4 separate regions of the Homo sapiens genome follow, and all the other regions are linked to region 1. The links are contacts of gene promoters, found by promoter capture Hi-C in blood cells and fetal thymus (Javierre and others, 2016). All regions are on one chromosome and are shown on one strand. The core of a region is centred on a gene start or on the middle of the fragment in contact, and the rest is flanking DNA. Distances in the headings are between cores, read along the strand shown.

Region 1 (2,677 bases), core at 105-2,604:
AATTGCTTGAACCCCGGGGGATGGAGGTTGCAGTGAGCCGAGATCACACCACTCCACTCCAGCCTGAGCTACAGAGTGAGACTCTGTCTCAAAAAACAAAAACAAAAAAAACACCTTTGCAGGAATTGACAACAGAGGCTGGTCTAGGGCATGGGGAAAACTCAAAAAGAGAACGGGAAAGTGTTTCTTCTGGTCCTAAGGACCCCTTCCAAGTGGGAAAATATTTCACTCTAACTAGACAGTGCCTTCCTGCCCTCTGTGAATTTTTGCCAAAAAACAGACCAAGAGCCTCTGTGGGCAGTTCAGGAGAGCCTTTCAGAGTGCAAAGGAAGCTTGGGCAACAAGTCCTCCCAGGGGAAACACCCTGGATCTCAGAAAGGAGAGGGGCCTGAACACCTTCTCCTGATGCTTCCCGCCTCCTCTGATCCCAGCCCACACAGGGCCCCAACCCATGCAGCTTCGGGCACGTACCTTGGCACACTATGGGGATTTAACACATGTTTCATGATGTTCTGGCTGATGGACTGGGAAAGGAAGCACCCGAAGCCGGGGTCCCCAGGAGCTCTCCCTCCCCTCAACAGGAGCTCTGACTCACAACCTGTTTGGCACTGCTGAGTCCTCTCCGGTTTCCTGAATCTCCCTCTCTCTAATGCAAAAAGCCTCCATGGCAGATGTTTTAGAACAATGATCACGTCAATGACGCTGTAACCCACTACTTTCTTTTTGCATCATAGAATTTTTTAAGTGTTTTTGCAGACTTACTCTTTAAGGTTAATTACATGTTTTGGATTGAGCCTTTGGGAAGACTTTACAGTGGTCCTATCGGATAACTGCGGGCCCCAAGGCTGGAGATCTGTTAATAGGGTGGGCAGAAAGGGACTGGGAGCGAGACTGGGTTCAGAATCTCAAGTAATTTGGAGTGTGCCTAGGGATTGGGATGATTTGGCTGGGCATTAATTTGAAGGTGAATATGCGTCTAGAGATTGCGGGGATTTCTTTTTCTTGGAGGGCAACCGTGGGTGTGGAGGAATTTGGTGTGCAGAAACAGAAAGGTCTGGTTCGGGCTTCCTCTGGGAAGGCAAGGCCAAGTGGCCAAGGCTGAGAAGGGGCAGGGGCGACCGTGCTGGGGCGGGTCCGCACCAGCTCCTGGGAGCAGAGAGCAGAGCCGGGCAAAGAGATGGGGTTGTCCAGGCTAGGGTGAGGACGCGGCCGGTGACAGCGCGGGTGGGGATCCCCCGGGGCCGGGGCGGGGCGGCTGCCGCGAGCCGGGCTGGGGGCGGGGCGGGGCGGGGAGGGACGGGGAGGGGCGGGGCGGGGCTCCGAGGCCGTCTCGCAGGCTGCGGCGGCCGCGGGAGAGGCGTACTCGGCGGCGGCGGAGCGGGCGGCAGAGCAGGGCGGCGGCGACTCGGTGAGCGCGGCGCGGCTGGGGGCGCGGCAGGGGCGCGGGCGGGGGTCTGCGGGCGCGGGGCTCGGCCTGCACGGGGCACCGCGGGGCACCGCGAGGCGGGGCGGGCGCCTCCCTGCCATCCTTCTCCTCCCGGACGCCCCTGCAGCCTTTGGGAGGGAGGGAGAGCGGAGGACACCGTCCGGGAGCCCTTCTCTAGCGATCGCCGGACAGAGGTCCGGCTTTGTGCCCCGTTGCCCTCTTTCTGAGAGGGCTGCCTCCTGATTGTGTTCCTTTCCCAGACCACCCTCCCTCGTCCCTCACTCACTTACCCCCCACCCCAGGTATCATAAGCTCCATTCTTGCAGGGGACCCCTAACACTCCCCTTCCCACCACCCGAGGCCCCGGGGTCCTGGGTACTCTCTACAGCCCCAAAGGGAGGGATGGCCCCCTCCCCAGCCCCTGCACACCTGGACCCTTCTGTTGCCACCTGCCACAGACGTTCTTAGCCAGCCAGAAAGCTGCTGTGCCTAGGACCCAGCACACCTTGCCGTCACCCTCTCTCCTCCCCCAGAACCCAGAACCCCAGTTTGGCAAAAGGCACTTTTCCAATACTGAGCTTTGGGAACAATTTGACCCACTTCCCAAAATGCTGGTCCCAGGCCAGCCATGCTTTTTGGTGGAGACACCTGTCTTGTCTGCCAGGAGACATTCTCTGTCAAAATGGGCCAGCCCGTCCCTGGGTCCTCCTCCAAGCTGCTCCTACTCGCTAGCCAGTGTCCCCAGAGACCAGGGCCAAGATCTTTGTCATTTAAGGCCTCCAAAGCTATTTCCCCACGCATCCCCAGAATTCCCCCAGCCACTGTTTTGGGGGTGCCAGGTCCAGAACTGATGGAGCAATCTTTCTGTGTCCAGGGCCTGATGTCCTCTCCCACACCCTTGTTTACCCGCCTGCTCCCCAGGGAACCCAAGACAGGGTCATGGGGCTGGAGTTTAGGGCCCTGATCTCCCCTGAAGCTCTGTGACCCTCCTTTTCTCCCTGTTAGAAACTTTCCTCTCTGTCACCAGTCACTATCTCCTCTGGATGGGACCTGGGCCATCTGCACAGTGTCGAGTCCCCAGGGCACAGAATGCTGATCTGGGACCCTGGAAGGCTGGGACTTGTGCTGGGGCAGCAGGAGGAGAGTGGCTGCTAGCCAGGTCTGGGCTTGGGTACCAGAGTTCTTTGGGTGGATCATTGTCGGCTTTCACTGATCTCTGGTTGGGGTTCGAGGGCTTGCTTTGCAGTGGAG
Region 2 (2,677 bases), core at 104-2,603, 1.1 Mb before region 1:
ACAAAGGTACAGGTTGTTTCATCTCTCAAATCCCAGGCCTTCATATTGACCTTTTTATTGTAGCTACACTCACTAAGGAGGATCCCAGATTTGCCATACATATTAATAAGTGGTCTGTGTCTAATTTTCAGAATGATGAGCTTCTGAGGGAATGCTGGTCATGTTCCTGACAACAGTCAGGACAACTGGGCATTTCACACTGGCCTCAGAGGATTGTAAACTCTACATTTAAGAGCCAGGAAGCTTTCTTGAGGCAGAGCCACTTCCAGGAAATTGGCAAATAGTGCTCAAAGGATAGACAGAAAACAGAAATCAAGAGGCTGATGGAATTCCTTAAGCTGTGGCCACCGGTGGTTCCATGCCATTACCAGCCCATACGGCTCCTTTGTGCAAATTACAAAACAACCAAGCTAAGGCTTATTTCAGCCCTGCTTGCCTCTTCAGCCCAGCACCTTTGTGCAGGGTGCACCCTCCTCAAGCAGTGGCCCTGGGAGCCCCTGTGATGTGCCTCCTCTGCAATGTTAGCATTTTTAGTACTTTGGTGGCTGTTTGAACATCGGTGAACAGATAGAACATGGGGGTAGTGGCAAGAGTGCAGGAATAGGAGCCAGGTCAAACCTGTCACATCTTACATTTCCTCCTCTGTTATTGTGACCTGGGACACATGAATCAATCTTTCTCAGCTTCAGCTTCATCTTCATCTGTGCAATTGAAATACTAATACTTGCCTTATAGAGTACACGCTTTTAGCAGGTTTACACATTGTAAACTGTAAGTGTGGTAACTAATGTTGCTGTAATTATTAATCTTGTGCTGGGGCAGGGTGCTGTAGCTCATGCTTGTAATCCCAGCACTTTGGGAGGCCAAGGTGGGTGGATCACGAGGTCAGGAGATCGAGAGCATCCTGGCCAACATGGTGAAACCCCGTCTCTACTAAAAATACAAAATTAGCTCGGTGTGGTGGCATGTGCCTGTAATCCCAGCTACTTGGGAGGCTGAGGCAGGAGAATCACTTGAACCTGGGAGGCGGAGATTGCAGTGAGCCGAGATCGTGCCACTGTACTCCAGCCTGGTGACAGAGCAAGACTCCATCTCAAAAAAACAAACAAACAAAAATCTTGTGCTGGGTACATTCTTGGTTCCTTGAGTCAAGAGAAGTTAGAGCCACAATACAAGTAGCCACAAATATATCACTCCCACTTTCTCTTGGCCTCAAGTCCCCCCTGCTTAGAAACCAAAATCCCTCCATTCAAATGTAATCTTTCTTTTTTAATGGAACCAGAGTAGTGGCGTACCCTGGATGGGTGGTGAGAACCTTCAGCCTCTGGTGTAGGCAATAAAGGGAGGTATTGTCTACATATAATTTTAAAACAGTGATAATGCTTGGCTAAAAGTTGGTCTTTATCTTATTATAACCATGTAGTGGCAATTCTAAACAATGACAATAATAAAATGACTCCTCTTTAGGGAAGCCCACTCCCACCAACACCCCCATCCTTGGTACACCACTGCCAAAGAGAACTTGGAATTCAGTCTAGAAATGTGGAACTGTCACTCAAGGCACCCAAATCCTCTACTTTACTATGGAAATTTGAGTGAGTCATTCAACCTTTGCGGACCTCAGTTTCCTTGTGTGAAAATTAGGAATCTTATATATTGTGTTGCTATGACATTTTTAAAAATTAAAAAATTGAGACTTGACTTTGGAAAGTATGAAAGAGTATAGGGATATGTTTTGATATTACCAAGATTAACAAAAATACTTTCACCAATGCAATTATCTGCTCCAAACCCAGCCATTTGCCATGATACATGACACCAGGTAAATCAGCATGGAAGGTGGTTCATGCTCCTTTAAAAGCCTGTCTCATGAGAAATAGGACCGTCTCAGACCTTTGAGAAGCATCAAGGTTGAGGGTCTATTTCTCTTGTGATCTCCTGGATCCCTGTTCTACATGAGGTAGTTTGTATGGGCCATTTGTTCGAGTCAGAGGGAGGACTCCAGTGAATTCCAACTCCTAATAATGCTTCAGAAAAGCCTTCCATAGATAAGAATTTGGTCAATAAACTAAGAAATCTAACCCTGGAGTCTAATTAAAATGAGGGTGAACCTTTATTGCATTCCTGCCATGTGCTGAGAACCAGACTTTTCTCTTTCAGGTTCATTAGTTAATCTTAATTTTCGCAGCAATTTTGAAAGATAGAGGTTCTAATCCACAACCTAAAGATGAAGAAATTTGTGTTCAGAAAGAGACCCAGCAGACACAGCAAGAGGATGGGAAAAGTAGAATGCGATCTAAGTCTGTGTGAATTCCAAATCCCCCCGTACTACATAATTATAATTTCAAATTCTACTCTACTACACTATTTCCCAAAAACAGCTTCATACATGTAATGTAATCACTGGGAATAGGTACAAGATGCAAGGCTTGGTTCCAATCTTGCCTCTTCCATGAAGCTTTCCCTGCCTGCCTCAGCCCTTGGAATTTCCCACTTTTCTGATCAGTAGCACTTAGATTTGGCACCATTCATTTGCCATTAATATTTACCACCTGATATTCTGGTTCTCTGTTCACATGGATATGACTTATTCCCATCAGCTACATTGAAACGTCTTTAAAGATATAGATGATGGCTTTTCTATCTCTTAGCATGGTGCCAGGAGCTCAGAAGATGA
Region 3 (2,677 bases), core at 86-2,585, 1.1 Mb before region 1:
AGGTAAAGGACATGATGATAGCCATTACCCAAAGGGAGACTAAAAATAGATGAAATGTTTAACATTACTATTAAAAGACAAATGCATATTAAATATCTTTGTTGTTGCACACTAAATATTACAAAGACAAGCCTCCTAACATCCAATGTTCTTGTGAGTGCACCGACACTGCTTCTCTGACATCTGCATTAGCAGAAATTAATCAGCAAGAGCAATAAAATCATTCCAAAACTTTGACCCATCAATCCAACATTGGGTAATTTTATCTAAAATTTCAAATCACAAGAAAACATTATATACACAAAAAATGTTAATCACACTTCCATGTATAGTAGAGAAAAACTAAAAAAGTAAATAACATATACAATCAGGGGTATGATTCATAGCTTCATACATGTTGCACAACCACTACAAGTTATGATTTTGATTAGAATGTGACAAAAGGGAAATATGACAACATGAAGCATTAAGTGAAAAGGCTAGGTTAAAAATCATGTGTACTACTACAACTCTTTAAAAATACACACATTTGAAAACAGACAAAAAAGGCCAGGCACAGGGGCTCACACCTGTAATCCCAGCACTTCAGGAGGCCGAGGCAGGCGGATCACGAAGTCAGGAGATCGAGACCATTCTGGCTAACACAGTGAAACCCTGTCTCTACTAAAAAAAAAACAAAAAAAACTTAGCCAGGTGTGGTGGCGGGCGCCTGTAGTCCCAGCTACTCGGGAGGCTGAGGCAGGAAAATGGTGAGAACCCAGGAGGCGGAGCTTGCAGTGAGCCGAGATTGCGCCACTGCACTCCAGCCTGGGTGACAGAGCGAGACTCCATCTCAAAAAAAAAAAAAAAACAACCAAAAAAAGAAAACAGAAAAAAAAAAGCTTCCTATTGTTTTAATTATATACTATAGATGATTTCTTTCTTAAGTTTCATACAAATATAAAATATAGCAATATTAAAGTAACATATAAATAATATATTATAATGTAACGACAGTTTTTAAAATTACAAGCCCTAAGGGAAGCCAAATATATATTCTGTATATGAACTATCATGAATTCTGAATGAGTGAAGTACGAATTAATGAGATCTCATGTATTCTGGGACTTCTTTAAGTCCTGAAGGTGTTATAAAAGGTAATATGATCAAGTTCCTACCATGTACTAGTTGCTTTAGATATACTTTCTCTTATTTTTATCACATCCCTGCTGAGTATTACTGTTGTCATTTCACAAGGTAACATACAAGGTAGAGATAGGTTACAAATTTTGCTCAGTGTCTCAGAGTTTCTACATACCAGTGCCAAGAATGAAACTCAGGTCAATTTCACTCTAAAAAATAAACTCTTTTCTCTAGGCACATCCCTGCTAGTCACAATAAAATTAATAAGTATTAAAGATGACAAACTATTAAGAGTAAAATGCACCCTTTAATTCAAATCGGAATTACTGAATCAAATCTGAATGCTCACCTCTCTTAAGACTGATTTAAAATGTGATCTCCCTGTTTTCTGAGACCACGATTTTCCAGAAGACCCATACCGAGACTGATTCCTCTTGCTTATGACATCAGCTTTCAGCTTTGGTGGTTCCCCTTCCATAACAAATACCAGTTTTACATCCATTTGTGTTAAATATGAGATACGAAAAAATAAGTTCCTGAAATATATAAATTAGTAATACATTAATCATCAAACACTGATAGTAAAAGTCAAAATAGTATAACACAAAGGCAAGAACATTAGACTAGTATCAAAAACGTTAATGTAATAACATTTTACTTAAGCTTTAATTAGAGTGGAAAACCACTGAATTTTCTTTTTCTTTGACAGAGTCTCACTCTGTCACCCAGGCTGGAGTGCAGTGGCATGATCTTGTCTCAGTGCAGCCTCAATCTCCTGGCTCAAGTGATCTTCCTGCCTCAGTCCCCAAGCAGCTGGGACTACAGGTGTGTGCCACCATGCCCGGCTAATTTTCTGTATTTTTTGTAGAGATGGGGTTTCACCATGTTGCCCAGGCTGGTCTTGAACTCCTGAGCTCAAATAATCCGCCCATCTCAGCCTCGCAAAGTGCTAGGAATACAAGTGTGAGCCACTGTGCCCGGCCAAAACCACTGATTTTTTTTTTTTTTTTGAGGTGGAGTCTCACTCTGTTGCCCAGGCTGGAGTGCAGTGGTGTGATCTCGGCTCACTGCAACCTCCACCTCCCAGGTTCAAGTGATTTTCCTGCCTCAGCATCCCAAGTAGCTGGGATTACAGGCATCTGCCACCACACCCAGCTAATTTTTTTTTATTTTTAGTAGAGATGGGGTTTCTCCATCTTGGCCAGGCTGGTCTCAAACTCCTGACTTTGTGATCCACCTGCCTCGGCCTCCCAAAGTGCTGGGATTACAGGCGTGAGCCACTGCACGCGGCCAAACCACTGAATATTTTTAAGCAAGAAAGATTTATGATTATTCTAATTGCTATGTGGAAAATAGTCTGGGGTAGGGGAGGCCAAGAGCAAGAAACTAGTGAAGATGGCACTTCAGGAGTATAGATGAGAGATGAGGTTGGCATAGACTGAGGTGGTGCCTCTGGACACTGAGATAAGTTTGTGAACACAAAGTATATTTTGGAGGTAGAACTGGCAAGACTTACTGACGGATTAGATGTGGAGAGAAGTAAAATAGGGAGAAA
Region 4 (2,677 bases), core at 123-2,622, 1.0 Mb after region 1:
CCACATGGCCTTTATAGCTTCCACCTGCATCACACACAAATAACAAAGTAATGTAAATGACATGCTTGAAATAACTTGTCAGCAATACTTTGGCTCAATTATATCACTTTAAACTTTGCTTGCAGCAATAAAATGTACTACTGGGCAAGTTATCTCCAGAACTTTGACTTTAAAAAATGTTAAATCAATTATTTCAATATAAATAAATAATTAGGCCTCACTAACAGCTGTCCCAACACCTCTACCCACCCTTGGCTCGGAAACAACTAGTTAGGCCTGAGTCTTACAATTTTTCAGGAACAAGCTAACAAAAGGGCATCCCAGGCAGAGGAAATAATATGCTGAATTACCACCTGAGTTAAGTCAAAGGCTTCTGATTCCTTGTTCAAAATCACCTATTATGCTCTTGTTTCCTACTAATTCCACAAAATGTTCAACTACTCTTATGACATTAACACTTCAAGAGAAAGAGCTAAGCTGAAGTCTTTCATTCACATAAAGATGACACAATTTAAAAATGCTACAAGGCAGGTATGGACAAAGTACTATGAGGGTAATAAGGAGGGAATGATTAACACGCTAAAAATATACTCTTAACCTAATGAAATGAAAGTACTGCCTTCCCAAACCGAAGTTCAAAACAGGTATATTTACATTTAAAATTGTATTTAAAATAATTCAAAGCTTACCACCAGCAGCCCTTTTCTGACCGTAGGTAACTTTCCCATCAAATTCATCCACTGGTACCTTTATATCCGGCTCAACCTGAGAAATGGTACAGTTCAGGTGTTCTTCTATCTCAGATAGTAACTAAGTAATGGAGAGAAAATTTCCAAATAAAAATTTCATTTAGAAAGAGTTGCATTTTATCATCATTAAATAAAGCTGGAAAGGCCAGAATGCTTGGTATAAATGGAAGTCAGATTTCTGAAGAGAGAAATTCACAACTTACAATTAGCAAAGTGCAGATAACATTATAACCAACTACGACTTTCCCTTATAAGTGACAAACAGATAAAAGCCAAGATATAATTTTTGAAGATAAATGCTTTCTATTCTACCATTTTAATACATTATTTGTGAGCCTAACTCGAAGTCTTACCTGCATCTCGTTGTACCATATGGTACAGCCTCCATCTTCCTTGAGTCTTGTGTTATAACACCCTTTTCCACGGCTGCTACATACATGGTACCAAACCTAAATTTAAAAAGGAAAAAATATTAACATGCATGGAGATAGAGACATGCTAAATATCTTATTCTAAATTTGTTTTTAATTGTTTTCTGTCCTCAAGGCACTAGAAAAATAGATTATAGGTATGATATATCATCCAATTACCACTACTATTCAGTAGCTCATTGAATAAATAGGTCTTCTGAAAAAGTTCTTTTTGAGAATAATCCAAAAGTTTTCCTAAAATGGGTGTCAGATATCAAAAGGAATTCTCAGATAAAAGTAGGATGAAAAAGTAAATATTGAAGCATACTATGTCAATATTAACATAAAAAAGTTCAAAAGAAAAATAAGTTCAAATCTTTTGTATAAGAGAATAATAAAGCAAATAATGCAAAATGTACAACTACTGAATTTGGCAATGAGTATATGGGAGCTCTTTATGAATACAACTTTTCTATAAATTTGTAATTATATCAAAATAAATCTCCCCTCACCATGAAAGGTCTTCCATGGCACCATGCCAGAAAATGTTTAAATATTTTTTGGTGGAAATGAGTACAATAAAGCTAGTTGGAAAAATTATATTTTGCATTTTTCCTTTCTAAATTTCACCCTATTATTTGTCCATTCAATGAATATAGGAAAAAAGATGACATTAAAAAGTTCATTTGTATTCCATACGCAGCTGAATTAAATTTAAATGGGAAAATCAAACTGCTTTTATTTCCAACATCTAAAATCACAACACACACAATGAATATAATAGAGCCCTACAAAGATTACCTTTTCTTTTTCTGTTGCCACCAGGGAAATTGCCAGACCCATCCTGAAAGATGGTTAAAAGCCTTCTATTAGACTTTATTCCTAAAGCATACAAGCTTAAAAATGGGGGAAAAAAAATTGCAGAAGTACCTTTCAGCTCTTCCTACTCTGCCAATTCGATGTACGTAGTTTTGCTTTTCATCGGGCAGAGTGACATTTATAACTATAAATAAAAACCATTATTAACAATTGCCAGTAGTTTCTAAATTTTTCAAACATATTAGAAGGCTTTACTTTAGATTCCGTAACAATCACACTACAGGCATAAAAAGTTGCTTTTTACCATAAGGAACACCGTGGATATCAATTCCTCTAGCAGCTACATCTGTGCAAATCAAGAATCTTACATCTCCTTTCTAAAGAGAACAGTGAAGAGAGAAAGGAGTTTGTTAGCACATATACTAAACAATAAAAACAAATGCTATCCTTCCACTAAATGAGACCTCTAAAAACTCAAGTGTTACTATCAGATTAGAGGTCGACATACTCCTAATTTACTGGACCAAGTCTTGAAGTTTTATGTCATGATCTGCTGAAACATGACATTTAAGGTGATTAAATCAGAGATTGGGTTCATTTTTGCTTTTCTTTTTCTACTCAAAGATATTAAACTATTGCTAAAACTTGGCTTAATCTTTATAAATATCTTTAGAAATTGAAGAGAAAGACAAAACAGAA

What was found. The method cuts DNA at HindIII sites, captures the fragments that hold promoters and counts their contacts. A CHiCAGO score of 5 or more calls a contact.
Region 2: a contact is called between a fragment that was not itself captured here and the fragment with the promoter of CYRIA in region 1, in 1 of 17 cell types (M0 macrophages). The highest score is 8.5, in M0 macrophages.
Region 3: a contact is called between a fragment that was not itself captured here and the fragment with the promoter of CYRIA in region 1, in 2 of 17 cell types (monocytes and M0 macrophages). The highest score is 7.1, in monocytes.
Region 4: a fragment that was not itself captured here is called in contact with the fragment with the promoter of CYRIA in region 1 in 1 of 17 cell types (endothelial precursors); the score reaches 7.3 in endothelial precursors.

The regions. Positions count from the first base shown.
Region 1 is chr2:16,664,511-16,667,187 of GRCh38, reverse strand. CYRIA (CYFIP related Rac1 interactor A) reads left to right here and starts at 1,354. Exons shown (of 12, transcript NM_030797.4): 1 at 1,354-1,408. RefSeq lists silencers at 1,148-1,317, 1,388-1,437. The HindIII fragment of the contact is 7,241 bases long and covers 335-2,677 here.
Region 2 is chr2:17,809,571-17,812,247 of GRCh38, reverse strand. No RefSeq gene overlaps it. Among named protein-coding and RNA genes, the nearest start is that of MSGN1, 5.6 kb to the left of the region's middle. The HindIII fragment of the contact is 2,215 bases long and covers 246-2,460 here.
Region 3 is chr2:17,760,377-17,763,053 of GRCh38, reverse strand. It overlaps GEN1 (GEN1 Holliday junction 5' flap endonuclease), which reads right to left. Exons shown (of 14, transcript NM_001130009.3): 3 at 1,472-1,658. Among named protein-coding and RNA genes, the nearest start is that of GEN1, 7.6 kb to the right of the region's middle. The HindIII fragment of the contact is 904 bases long and covers 884-1,787 here.
Region 4 is chr2:15,628,123-15,630,799 of GRCh38, reverse strand. It overlaps DDX1 (DEAD-box helicase 1), which reads right to left. Exons shown (of 26, transcript NM_004939.3): 21 at 2,283-2,355; 22 at 2,090-2,162; 23 at 1,961-2,003; 24 at 1,103-1,198; 25 at 690-810; 26 at 1-24. Among named protein-coding and RNA genes, the nearest start is that of DDX1, 38 kb to the right of the region's middle. The HindIII fragment of the contact is 1,371 bases long and covers 687-2,057 here.